Regions from separate parts of the Homo sapiens genome. Here all the other regions are linked to region 3. Evidence: promoter capture Hi-C in 16 types of primary human blood cells and fetal thymus (Javierre and others, 2016). All regions are on one chromosome and are shown on one strand. The core of a region is centred on a gene start or on the middle of the fragment in contact, and the rest is flanking DNA. Distances in the headings are between cores, read along the strand shown. Region 1 holds the start of RP9 (RP9 pre-mRNA splicing factor). Region 2 has its middle 2.3 kb from the start of BBS9. Region 3 holds the start of SEC61G (SEC61 translocon subunit gamma). Region 4 holds the start of SDHAF3 (succinate dehydrogenase complex assembly factor 3).

What was found. The method cuts DNA at HindIII sites, captures the fragments that hold promoters and counts their contacts. A CHiCAGO score of 5 or more calls a contact.
Region 1: the fragment with the promoter of RP9 here is called in contact with the fragment with the promoter of SEC61G in region 3 in 1 of 17 cell types (activated CD4 T cells); the score reaches 5.8 in activated CD4 T cells.
Region 2: a contact is called between a fragment that was not itself captured here and the fragment with the promoter of SEC61G in region 3, in 1 of 17 cell types (monocytes). The highest score is 5.4, in monocytes.
Region 4: a fragment that was not itself captured here is called in contact with the fragment with the promoter of SEC61G in region 3 in 1 of 17 cell types (fetal thymus); the score reaches 7.9 in fetal thymus.

The regions. Positions count from the first base shown.
Region 1 is chr7:33,107,911-33,110,746 of GRCh38, forward strand. RP9 (RP9 pre-mRNA splicing factor) reads right to left here and starts at 1,494. Exons shown (of 6, transcript NM_203288.2): 1 at 1,311-1,494. The coding sequence starts at 1,462. RefSeq lists silencers at 1,150-1,379, 1,390-1,869. The HindIII fragment of the contact is 9,627 bases long and covers 1-2,836 here.
Region 2 is chr7:33,125,647-33,128,826 of GRCh38, forward strand. No RefSeq gene overlaps it. Among named protein-coding and RNA genes, the nearest start is that of BBS9, 2.3 kb to the right of the region's middle. The HindIII fragment of the contact is 3,349 bases long and covers 1-3,180 here.
Region 3 is chr7:54,757,661-54,760,594 of GRCh38, forward strand. It overlaps SEC61G (SEC61 translocon subunit gamma), which reads right to left and starts at 1,551. Exons shown (of 4, transcript NM_014302.4): 1 at 1,498-1,551. It overlaps SEC61G-DT (SEC61G divergent transcript), which reads left to right and starts at 1,653. Exons shown (of 3, transcript NR_110040.1): 1 at 1,653-1,864. RefSeq lists a silencer at 1,201-1,520 and an enhancer at 1,754-2,689. The HindIII fragment of the contact is 2,422 bases long and covers 1-1,961 here.
Region 4 is chr7:97,116,634-97,119,742 of GRCh38, forward strand. SDHAF3 (succinate dehydrogenase complex assembly factor 3) reads left to right here and starts at 1,065. Exons shown (of 2, transcript NM_020186.3): 1 at 1,065-1,264. The coding sequence starts at 1,091. RefSeq lists enhancers at 723-802, 1,153-1,242. The HindIII fragment of the contact is 1,525 bases long and covers 706-2,230 here.

The sequences.
Region 1 (2,836 bases), core at 244-2,743, about 22 Mb before region 3:
AAAAGCAAATGAGGTAGAGAAATAGCTGGATTCCATACAGCCTGGCGTTTGCCTTCTTTGAACAGGGTTTCAAAGGCTGACCACCTGTGACGGCCTGAAAATCAGCTGCTGTGATTGTCTGAGACTCAGGTACTTATAACAGTAGGTTACAGTCTGTTTACACATCTACTTAGGTTACAGTTCACTAAGTACAGAGAAACTTTTAGGCTAAACTTAAAATATTCAAGGAGGCAGCGTTAGGCTATACTTAACACCTACTTAGCACAGGTAACTAGAAGTGGCTAAAACAGAAACGAATTCTTGAATAACTGAGTGAATGCCACACTTAGAAAAGGTTGTTTTATGCAGCTAATTATAGAATCACGGACAAGAACTGAAAGAGTTGCTGCCTGAACTTTCCACTCGAGGTCTGTGTTAGAATTTAGGAAACGCCACCCTGATAAATGACTGCAAAAGACAAGAATGCACCATCCCCAAACATGCCACCCTGGCATATTGATGACTTTGAGCTATAAGTAACAGAACCAAACAACACAGGATAACTTATTCAGCTACCCCTCAACTGCCTAAAATAAAGTATGACTGCTTTTTTTCCTTTTGTTCTTATTATTTTTCGACTCGCCTGTTGTAAACAGAAATTTACACCTATAAAGGAAATTTTCTGTAGTAAATGTATCTGTATCAGGAAGACAGCTGCTTGGGGGCAACTTTTATCGCCTGAGCGCCTCATCGGGATAACAAAGCAACCTTTATTCACCATACATTTCCCCCATCACCCTTCCAAAAGGTCTCCACCACGCCCCAAAAGGCCCACGCCCCTATTCCCTGGCCCTTCTTTGTCTCCCACTTTTGTGGCCCTCTAGTGCACGGGTACATAATTAAAAGTTTTTCTCCTGTTAATCTGTCTTATGACAATTTAATTTGTGGCCCAGCTTAAGAACTTAGAAGGGTAGAGGGAAACCATATTTCCTTCCCCTACATTTGAATCTTCTTTACACCACACTCTCCCGGGTCATTTGGACTCTCCTGGAACCCCCTGGAGCTAGGGAAGCGCAGGGCCTCCCAAGTCAGATTCTGCTTGGTGCCGAGCGGCAGTTGGCTCCCTGAACGCCCCGCCAGGAGGATGGACTTCAAGTCCTTGACCGCGGCGCCCGACATCGGTCGCCCGCACCAGGCTCCTGCCGGGCCCAGCCCCCCTGCCTGCTCGCGGGGGCTCGGAGGACCCGGCCTAGCGCCCACCGCGGCGTCCCGCGCCCCGGGCCCCTGGCTTCAGAAGACTGGCCGCGCGCGGACGGCAGCTCGGGACTCACAAGGACTCCAGGTGCTTGAGCTGCTGCAGCTGCTGCGCGTCGTGTCGCCGCCGCTTCTGCTCCCGACGTCGCTGCAGCTCCTGCTCCGGCGGCTCACGCGGCCGCCGCGCGCCCGCAGCCCCCACGTCCTCGCGCCCAGGCCGGGACGACATGTCAGCCCCCGCAGCGCCGCTCGGGCAACCCCCGCGGCGCGGCTCCGGCGGCGGCGGCGGCGGCGGCGGCAGCCAAGAGAGCACTTCCTCCGCGCGGCGGTCGCGGGGCTTCGCAGCGCCCCCTCCCGCCGCCGCCCCGCAACTCACCCCGGCGGCCCCGAAGTCTCAGCCTCGGCCACCCGATCCCCGCCTCCCCGCGTCGGGCCCCAAGTCAGGGGCTCCGGGTCTCGGGCCCAGCCGCCAGGCGGGCTGCTGCGGGTGGGTGGGGAGCGCCGCCTAGCTGGAGCCGAAGCGGGGCGAGGCGCTAGTTGGGAGCCTGGAGGTTCCCGCCCGGCCACACCCACCTCAGGTATACTAGCAACAGTCACATAGGGATGAGCAGATGAAATGTATTCATAAAAAAATGTTCAAATTAGCCAGGCGTGGTGGCGGGCGCCAGTAGTCCCAGCTACTTGGGTGGCTGAGGCAGGAGAATTGCTTGAACCCAGGAGGCAGAGGTTGCAGTGAGCCGAGATGGTGCCCCTGCACTCCAGTCTGGGCGAAAAAGCGAGATTGTCTCTCAGAAAAAAAAAAAAAAAAGTGTTCAAAAAGTGAAATGTATAAACATATAATTATGTTCGGTAATAGTGTGCACCCAGCTTTATAACTGCGGTCATCTGATATACCATGAGAGACAACCTAACTCTTTTGACAGGATGGGTCACCATGACGTCACCACTGTGCCAGTCACCCGAGGAGCCAAGATCCTGAGAAATTTCATCTTTCACAAATGCAGATGTACAGAAAAGACACTTATTTATTTATCGAGGAAATTTCTACATTTTTGCATATATGTAGAATGCTTACACAGTCACCATTGTAATAATGAGCTTTGATTGAGTCATATTTGCAAAAAATGCATAAAACAAATTTGAACTCTCTAAAAGTCTTTATATAGTTGATGCCTCCAGTATTAGAAATGATGTTAAGATGTAATACATAGCATAGTGAATTGTAAAACATAATGCTGACAATTTACAATAATGAAAAAGCTAAAAGAGAAAATAGAAAAACGAAAGCAAACTAAAAAGAAAATTCAACATAGAAAAAGTGTATTGCAGGGATAGATTATGGGCAATTGCATGGCGATTGTCCACATGAACTGCCCAACTTTTATGATGATTAACATATTTTGAAGTCTTGCATCATGATGAATAGCTTTTTTTTTTTTCTTTTAGGACATGGCTCTCCTCGATGATACAGTCTCATTAATTTTCTATGTGATACTGCTCTTTCCAAAATTCTTTTTAACTTTTTAAAGTTTTTTATTTTGTAGAGACGGGGTCTCGCTATGCTGCTTAGGCTGGCCTTGAACTCCTGGCCTCAAGCAATCCT
Region 2 (3,180 bases), core at 412-2,911, about 22 Mb before region 3:
AATTCTAAAATCTATTTCTTTAACTGCTATCCCCTAAACTGCAGGCAGTTTCTATTTCTGCCACCTTTTTTCACTGAGATTCATTTAATTTCCCTAGTTTCACATTAAAAATGCTGTCTTCTTCATTTAAAATAATAATTTCTTTGCTTTTTTTTTTGAGATAGGGTTTCACTCTGTCATGCAGGCTGGAGTGTAGTTGCACGATCATGGCTCACTGCAGTCTTGACCTACTGGGCTCAAGCAGTCCTCCAACTTCAGCCCCCTTAGTAGCTGAGATTAAAGGCACACGTAACCACGCCCGGCTAATTTTTGTATTTTTTGTAGAGACAGGATTTTGTCATGTTGCCCAGGCTGGTCTCGAACTCCTGGGCTCAAACGATCTGCCCACCTCGGCCTCCCAAAGTGCTTGGATTATGGACATTGCACCCGTCTGGTAATATCATTTCTTGAGGTAGAGTTTTGCTTTTGAAATTTCTCAGATTTCGTATCTCAGTGGTTCAAATTTGCCATGTCTTGCTATTTGATTTCCAGGTCATATATCATTGCATTCAGGTTTTCTCCTCTTTAGAAAGCCTGGGATGGTAACTCTCTCCTTCAATTTTTTCATCAGTTGCTATACAATTTTTTTTTTTTGGTTCTAATTGCTGGTATGGCCTGACACTAAAGGTTTATCCTGAAGGCCTAGAAATCAATGCTCTTTTTCAATATAACTTGATTCTGTACTCTTGGCTTTTCTTGATACATGTGAATTGTTATAATCATGACCTGGGACACATCTTCCTGTATCTGATTAAATTCAAGTACCCTTTTCATCAGATTCGACCTCCAGGTTATCTAAATGAGCTCCCCAAAAGGAGAAACAATCACATTGCAGAAAGTTTTTCTTTACTTTTTTGGTACCTGGCCTAAGGAAGATTATACATTTTATCAACATAATTTCCTGTGTTGCTTTTATTAGATTTGATTTTTTTTTAACCTGAAGTTTAAAATGGTTAAGATAGTTTTAATGTAATTATTTGTATGGCTTTTTAAGCCTTTTGATTATCACTCTGGTTATATAAATGACTTATTTCACAAGTAACTTGTGATTCTGTATTGATACAGTGTTTTGAGCCCTTTAAAAACTTCCTCAAAATCAAATTCCAATTTAAGTTTTTTAAATGTAGAATTAACTTTGGAATTTTCCAGTTGGACTCCTGGAAAGCATTAAAACATATCTTTCTCATCTTTTAGAGGTATTAAATGATTTGGGTTATTTGGTAAATTTTATAAGAAATATTGTCAAACGATAACTGATACTAGATTTTTCTTTTATTTGCATTTATGGGAATATTGTTTATATGAATGTTTGAAAAATTATATAAGTCCATACAAGTATGCTGGGAATGATGGCTCATGCCTATAATCCCAACACTTTGGGAGGCTGAGGTCAGAGGATTACTTATAGCCAGGAATTTGTGTCCAGCTTGGGCAACAAAACAAGACCCTGTCTCTATTAAAACAAAACAAAACAAAACAAAAACAAAAAAAACCAAAAAAAAACCAAGCATGGTGGTACAAACGTGTAGTCCCAGCTACTTGAGAGGCTGAGGCAGAAGGATTGCTTGAGTCCAGGAGTTTGAGATTGCAGTCAGCTATGAATGTGCCACTGCACTCTAGCCTGGGCAATAGAGCAAGACCCCATCTTTAAAAAAAATTCGTACAAATGTATTATATTACCAGTCATAATTCTGGTTATCTTAAAATACTGTATATAATAGCAATAAATAAATGTTCTTCTCAGTTGTTAACTTCATCAGATTTTTAACCATGGCTATTTTAAGTTTTTGTCATCCATATTATTGTTTTGAATTCTTTTTTAAAAAACAGACTCCTGGAAAATATTCTAACAAGTACTCTTTTATTTTTATTTATTTATTTTTGAGACAATCTTGCTCTGATGCCCAGGCTGGGGTGCAGTGGCACGATCCTGGTTCATTGCAACCTCTGCCTCCCTGGTTCCAGTGATTCTCATGCCTCAGCCTCCTGAGTAGCTGGGATTACAGGCATGCGCTACCACGCTGGGTTAATTTTTTGTATTTTTAGTAGAGATGGGGTTTCACTATATTGGCCAGGCTTTTCTCCAACTCCTGGCCTCAAATGATCCTCCCGCCTTGGCCTCCCAAATTGCTGGGATTACCGGCATGAACCATTGTGCCTGGCCCTAAAATATACTCTTAGATTTGGGTTTCTAACAACTTGAAGATCAATGGACAATATAACAATTTCCAGAACTGTAATAAAAAAGTGGGTTCATGAAACTATTAATCAAGATCAGGCAGAACAAGAATTAATTACGTGAGTTTAACTAATGAAGACAATGTTTTTATGATATTATTTCAAATGTTGTTGGTTCTTTACTCAAATAGTTTTTTCCAGATTTAAGAAAATCTTGTCTTTTAAGCTATTTATAATTTACAGCAATTTGATAGAGTATACTTGTGTAAAAAAAGATAAAAACTTTTTTTCTCTTTACTTGATTCCTCCATAATTAGAAAACCATTTGTGAGTCTTCTTATGGTAATATGGTCATTTCAATAAGTCTAATAAAAATCTGCTCTCTCTGTATAGCAGAATACAATTGGAAACTGGTTATATTACCAAGGCTTTGACTGAAAGGTCATTTTTAAAAATATTGAGGCCGGACGCGGTGGCTCACGCCAGCAATCCCAGCACTTTGGGGGACTGAGGTGGGTGGATCGTTTGAACCCAGGAGTTCGAGAGCAACCTGGACATGGCGAAACTCCATCTCTACAAAAAATACAAAAATTAGCCAGGTGTGGTGGTCTGTGCCTGTAGTCCCAGCTTACTAGGAAGGCTAAGGTGGGAGAATCGTTTGAGCCCGGGAGGCTGAGGCTTCAGTGCTTCAGTGAGCAGTGATCCTGTCACTGCACTCCAGTCTAGGCGACCCTGTCAGGGAGACCCAGTCTCAGTTAAAAAAAAAAAAAAAACCCAAAACCCAAAAAACTAAAACTAGAATGGTATTTTCTACTGGGAATGTGGATTTGTGGATTGATGGTGAAATACTGGAAATTTAAAGCCTACACTAGAATCCATTGAAAAAAGCAAACAAGAAAAACTTCAAGGTTGGCTACATTGAATTTGAATGTAAAGATTAAAAAAAAATAAGTAAAAAACAAA
Region 3 (2,934 bases), core at 301-2,800:
TAAAGATGTAAATGAGACCAGCCACTGAATTCACGTCTAACATGGGTCAATTCCACCTCCTAAAATAAAACAAAAAACAAACTCCAAAGCCTAAATTGATATTATTTTTGGAAATTTCAGTTAATTATCAAAGGCAATAAGAAAAGCACAGATCTTACTCATGATATCTTCACTGACAAAGAACAGCACACGCAATATAAAAAGCCTATCTCTATTAAAAGGTTAAAAAAGGTTACGCAATTGGTAACACATCCATTCCTTTTCTCACTCTGCAGTCCCATCCATTTCTCATTCTACAGTCCCCTCACCGCTCCTAAGGAACCATCAGTGTTGAGATCCAACAATTACTTTCCATATTTTATTTTAAACTACGCAGAAGCCAGTGTCTTGTACAGTGAATGCCAACTACGGTGCTGCAAGAGCCTAGAATAGAGGCAAACGTGAATTTCAACCTTGATTTTTCTAAAACGTGCCAATACAACATACTTTTCTAAAGTATAAAGAATGGCTAAAGGAAGACGCAAATTCTGAGAAGCTACTAGCTAAATTTCAAACTTTTCGATTTGAACACATCTTTTAAGGAAACAGGGCTATATATTTTACCATACAGGTTCTTTTGAGGAATCTATTACCCAATAGAAATGTTATCCGATCTTAGCTTTGAGAGCCACTGCTATAGTAAGTAAAGCAGCCAGGGTGTTATTTGTATTTTCCTCCATTTCCAGTACTCAGAACAGTGGCCAGGTGGTAGTTCAAATCACTGGCTATGGAATGTAAACCTCTGTAAGCCCCAGTTGCCTTCCTTAGTGTAGGGTGTGGACAACGAAATGAAATAATGTCAATGAAACACCAGGAATTCTGCAACGTTCTGGGGGCAAAAACACAGTAATGTCTGTTTTCTCAGTATTTCACTCAACTTTGCTCTTGAAATCCAAAGGGCTTAAACTTTTTGTAATCATAGTTGTCACGAAGGAAGCTAAGAATTCTTTATCCAGAAAAACGCACGCTACACACAATACCGCACTCAATGTCAGGGGTAGAGATCCAAAAACCAACTATGATCTCTCGAACTAGACTCTAGACCAATGCTCTCACTTTAAACCACGGAAGCGGCGGCAGGACCAGAGCTGAGTACAGCTCTTCCCAGACAGGACTCCACAACAGCACACAGAGCCAACCCCGAAGGGATCGGGCAGCAGGACATCATCTTTGGCTGCAGCACAGAAGACGCCGGGGCAGGACGCTAAGCCCTGGAGCCCCGCGGGCCGGCCACCCAGCTCGCCGGGAGTCCGCGGCCCTGGGTCTGCCTTCCGCCAGAGGCCGAGTTGGTGGGATGTCGGCGGCCAGACCCCGGCCCTGAGCCAGGGGACCACTTACCGCCCGCCCCGCGACGGCCGCCCGGGGAGACACGCCGGCTCGCCCACGCCCGCTGCCCCCAAGAGTCGCAAAGGTGTGGCCGCCCCGTTCGCCCGTACCGACCGGTGGGAAGAAACTCACCTACCCAACCGACACCTAAAATGCCAGGGACACGTAGCACTGGAGCTTGCTGATGGAGGCCCACCGGAACCGGAATCCGGGTTTCTGCCAACAGCCCGCCCACTCCTCCGTCCTATTGGTTCCTTACGCGAAACCTCAGTGCGCAAGCGCAGCGCGACGTGCGCCCGGCCACGCTTCCTGGAAGAGATGCATTGCGGAGCTCGCTAGTTGGGGCGTTGGCCTTCCTTAGGAGTGTGAGTCTAGCGTTATCCCTTTTTTCCGGCTGGATCCCGGGTTACCCCACCAGCCCGACCTCAACCCACTCACGTCCACAGCACGAGCCCCAGCGGCCTTGCGCGGTGCTTGCTCTCTAGTAGCGGCTGACTAGGTAAATCCTAAGTTGTGGTTTTTTTTCCTGCGGTCCAGCTTGATGTGTGTCCTTACGGTACATACTTTTTGTATGTATATAATGTTGGTCGAAATGAAGCTTATGAGCAATATAATGTTATGGCCTAATTCAAAATAGTATCCCCACCCCAAACTTTGACTTTGGCTGTCATTCACGGTAATGAATGCCGCTGTAATTGAGGCCTTTGTCAAACGCTAGGTTTGGTTACGGGAGTGGTCATAATGTACACACAGCTCCCCACTTACCCACAAGGATGCATTCCAGGAACCCCCCGCCGGATGGCTGAAACCGTCAGTAGAGACGGGGTTTCACCATATTGGCCAGGCTGGTCTTGAACTCCTGACCTCGCGATCCACCCGCCTCGGCCTCCCAAAGTGCTGGGATTACAGACGTGAGCCACCGCGCCCGGCCATGTTTCCTTTTAGCAATGGAGCATAACGGGATCTGAGGAACAATATAACTCAGGAAGAGCTGATGGAACATTAAGACGTGTTACAACTCTCAGTGCTTCTTAAACTTCTTCAGTAACTGAAATCTCCTGTTAAGTTTTTTAGTAAATGAAATTTGTAACCCCAGAACCTCCAGATATTGATTCAGTGGGTCAGGGTTAGAGGTCACACACCTCCGTATATCTGACTGTAGGTGGTCCATACACACTACACATACCTTGCCTTAGCTTTAAGAGTCACTTTTAAATTCTGAACAGACTGAGATGCGTTTGACTAGTTCTTCATCCCTGGGACTTCAGCCCATGTGTCATCTCCTTAGAGGCCTATAGTGACCATCTAAGGCAATCCTGTCTATCTCATGCTCTTTTTTCCTTTTTCACAATACCTTCTTCATTTGCTGCATAGCATTTGTATTAACATTTATTTATTTATTCCTCGGTCTGTCTCCCTACACTGTAAATCCCCTTACTAGACCATAAGCTCCAAGTGGGTATAATATAGCATCTAGTAAAGTGCTAAACACAGTAAATGCTCAATAAATAATTTTCAAAAAAATAATTCATTCCAAAAAAACATAAAATCACATGTTGGCAAGTTCAC
Region 4 (3,109 bases), core at 218-2,717, about 42 Mb after region 3:
CTCTCAGTTGCAGTTAATTTACATACTAAGTTAGGTTGCAGTTCCCTACATAGCAACTCAGAGTAGGGAGGAAATTTTAGGCCAAATTTAATTTAAATTATGTTGGAGCATGACCAAAGTTGGTCATGACCAGAAGCTGAACACAGATATGGAAGCTAACACAATATCCAGTGGAGAGAGATTGTGGTAGAGTACATGGGGCGAAATGGTTGATTTCTGCATTTTTGTTGGTGACGCCATCAGGATTTGCTGAAGAACCAAACGTGTGACAGGAAAGGACAACACAAGGAGCTGCCAGCTTTGGAAACCAGTTCTACTCTCAGTATTACCTTCGCAAAAGATAGAGCTTTGTAAATTTCTAGATTCCTCGTTCTTATTATCCTAGACTATTTAACCAGAATCTCCAGGGTCGTGGTCCTGGAAACAATACGTTTAAAACTCTTCCCAAGGATCCTTCAGCAGCCAACTTGACTTTGGCTAAGGAGTCCGCCAGCTCTGGGCTCACTTGGGTTGTTTGCAAGGAAGAGCCCATGCCCAGAGTATAAATTGGGAGAACAGCGCTGTGCAAAGAGCGTGGGTTGGTGAGCTAGTGGATGGCGAGATTAATCTCACTCTGATCCCTAAAGCAGGGTGCAGTAATACTCTAAATGCCTCAAATGGGTTGGGAACCATGGAAGGAATCCCGGAGGAGCCCGATCTTAACGAAGCTTTTCTCAGGCCTTTGGTAGGAGGACAGAAACGAAGTTGAATGAAAAAGACAGTGGAGTGGGACTGAGAAATGACAACGGCCCACCACAGACCTCTCTCTTTCAAGGCCTGTGTCGTCAGGACGCAGGCCAGAAGAAGCCACGACGAGGCGCAGGCGCGACTCCACGAGGGCCACGCCCCTCCTAGAGAAGGACCGACCCGTTTTCCGCCCGCAGCGGAGCTTGGGTTTCCGGGAGGACCTGATTGTGCAAGGGACCAAACCGGATAGAGGTCGCGCGCCCTCTTTCGTCTGCCTTCCGGTTCACTAATACGCAAGTTCGCAGAAGTGCGGGAACGCGCCGTCCCTCTGCGCAGGCGCAGTCGGCGGTCGGCGTGGGGCGCTATGCCGGGGCGGCACGTTTCTCGAGTCCGGGCATTGTACAAGCGCGTCTTGCAGCTGCACCGTGTTCTGCCCCCGGACCTCAAATCCCTGGGCGACCAGTACGTGAAAGACGAATTTAGGAGACATAAGACCGTTGGTTCTGACGAGGCACAGCGTTTCTTGCAAGAATGGGAGGCAAGTGACGCTCCCTTCTCTTTGCCCAAGACCTTTGGGGTTCCTCGGTGTCCAGGTTTCTAGTTCCAGTCCCCCATGCGGGGTTAAACAGAGCAGCAACCTGTTCTGTTTGAAATAGCGTAATGCTGTTCAGGTAACACTTTCCAAAGTTTCTCCCACGGGTTTCTCACTAGAGCAGATCCTGTTACTTCAGCGTCCCCAATTCAGTTCAACTTTTGAGCTCCTGCAGATGCCAGGTGCTCAAAGGGTGAGGGTAGGAGGTCACAAAAATGAGCAAGTCGTCGTTAAGTGCTCAAAAACCTCAGGAGCTTTTTGTCCTTTTAAGTGCCTTTGCACCTAGTAAGCGCCCATTAATAAATTAATGGTTCTCTTATTAGTTTTCAAATTTAAAGGCTTATTTCCGTAATTTATTATTTAATCTCAGCGCTTTTGGTTGGGTTTAAATAATTTTCTCACTTGGCTGATACAGAAATCAGGTAACATGAAAAAGATTACAAAAGGTTGGAGATTACAAACTGTGAAGGAGAAAAATGCTGGTGGCAGTTAAGTCAGGCGAAAGTTGTTTCCTCCGGTCTCAAGTCATTGTTACTTCGCCCTGCACCATTGCGCTAAATATTAAACAGACACATGCATTAGCAATAAGTCGTTTGACTTTTTTTTTTTTTTTTTGAGTAAAGGAAAAAAGATATTCAGAGTATTTCGTGGGGCTCGGGGCCCTGCAGGATTGCCCCTAGTTTTCATTTGCAAATATAAATAAATGAATGGAATTAGAGATTGGAATGACAGCTCAGATATTTGAAAGCATGAGTTGGAGCTGATATGAAAATAGAGGTAAGCGGTTCTTCGGCCTAAATAGTTGAAGGGGAGATGACTGAAGTCGGCTTTGTAAAAAAAAATCAAAAGAATGGTTAGGGTGAACACAAACTTTGCACTGACTTCCAGAATTCTTTTTTGTATAATTATTGAAGCTTTTAAGAGCGACATTTAGAACAATCGGGAAATTTAGAACTTTCTTGAAAATCATGGTGTATTTGATGTAATTCGCTTGCCTGAAGCAGGGAAGTTGAAGCTTTTCAGACACAGAGCACTTTATTTTAATAAGGTAATTTGGTTTTGGAGCCTGAAGAACTGGATTCAGATTCAGTCTCTGACATTTTAAGTGTCAGATCACATAATTTTTCTAGTCTTATTTTCTCATCTATAAAATAATAAGTGTTTATGCATCTCAAAATTTACGTATGTAAATGTATTTACAAGCACTTGTGTATTGCTAATTGTTATGAAGCTATAAGATACTGTATTAAAGTATTTTACATCTTTTATGGTAGGTCATTTTGTGGCCGTACAGGAAGGAGAGTAGCTCTCTGTTGGGAGGAAATAAGGTTATTTTAAGAAGTCTTAAAATGTAAGCACATGGAAGCCTCTTTGGGAAAAAGTAGGAAAGAGTAGCAACTCAGAAAAAATTGATAATAGGTTGTAGGAGAGAGAGAGGGTATAAAAAAGAACTGCATAAATAAAAAATGTGTTAGTTGACCTAGTAGGCTTGGTAACTGGGATTGAGCTTTTTAAAACTTGGAATAATTTTAGACATACAGAAGAGTTAGAAAGACAGTAGAGAGTTCCCTACATCCTGTTTCCCCCTGTGTTAGCATCTTACATAATCAGGGTACAGTGATCAAAAACAAGAAATTAACATTGCTACAATGCTGTTAACTACAGACTTTATTTACAATTTGCCAGCCCTTTCACTAATGTCCTTATTCTGTTCCAGGATCCAATGGGGATTCTACAATGCATTTAGTTATTCTTTTTCCTTAATCTCCATTCTGTGACAGTTGCTCCGTC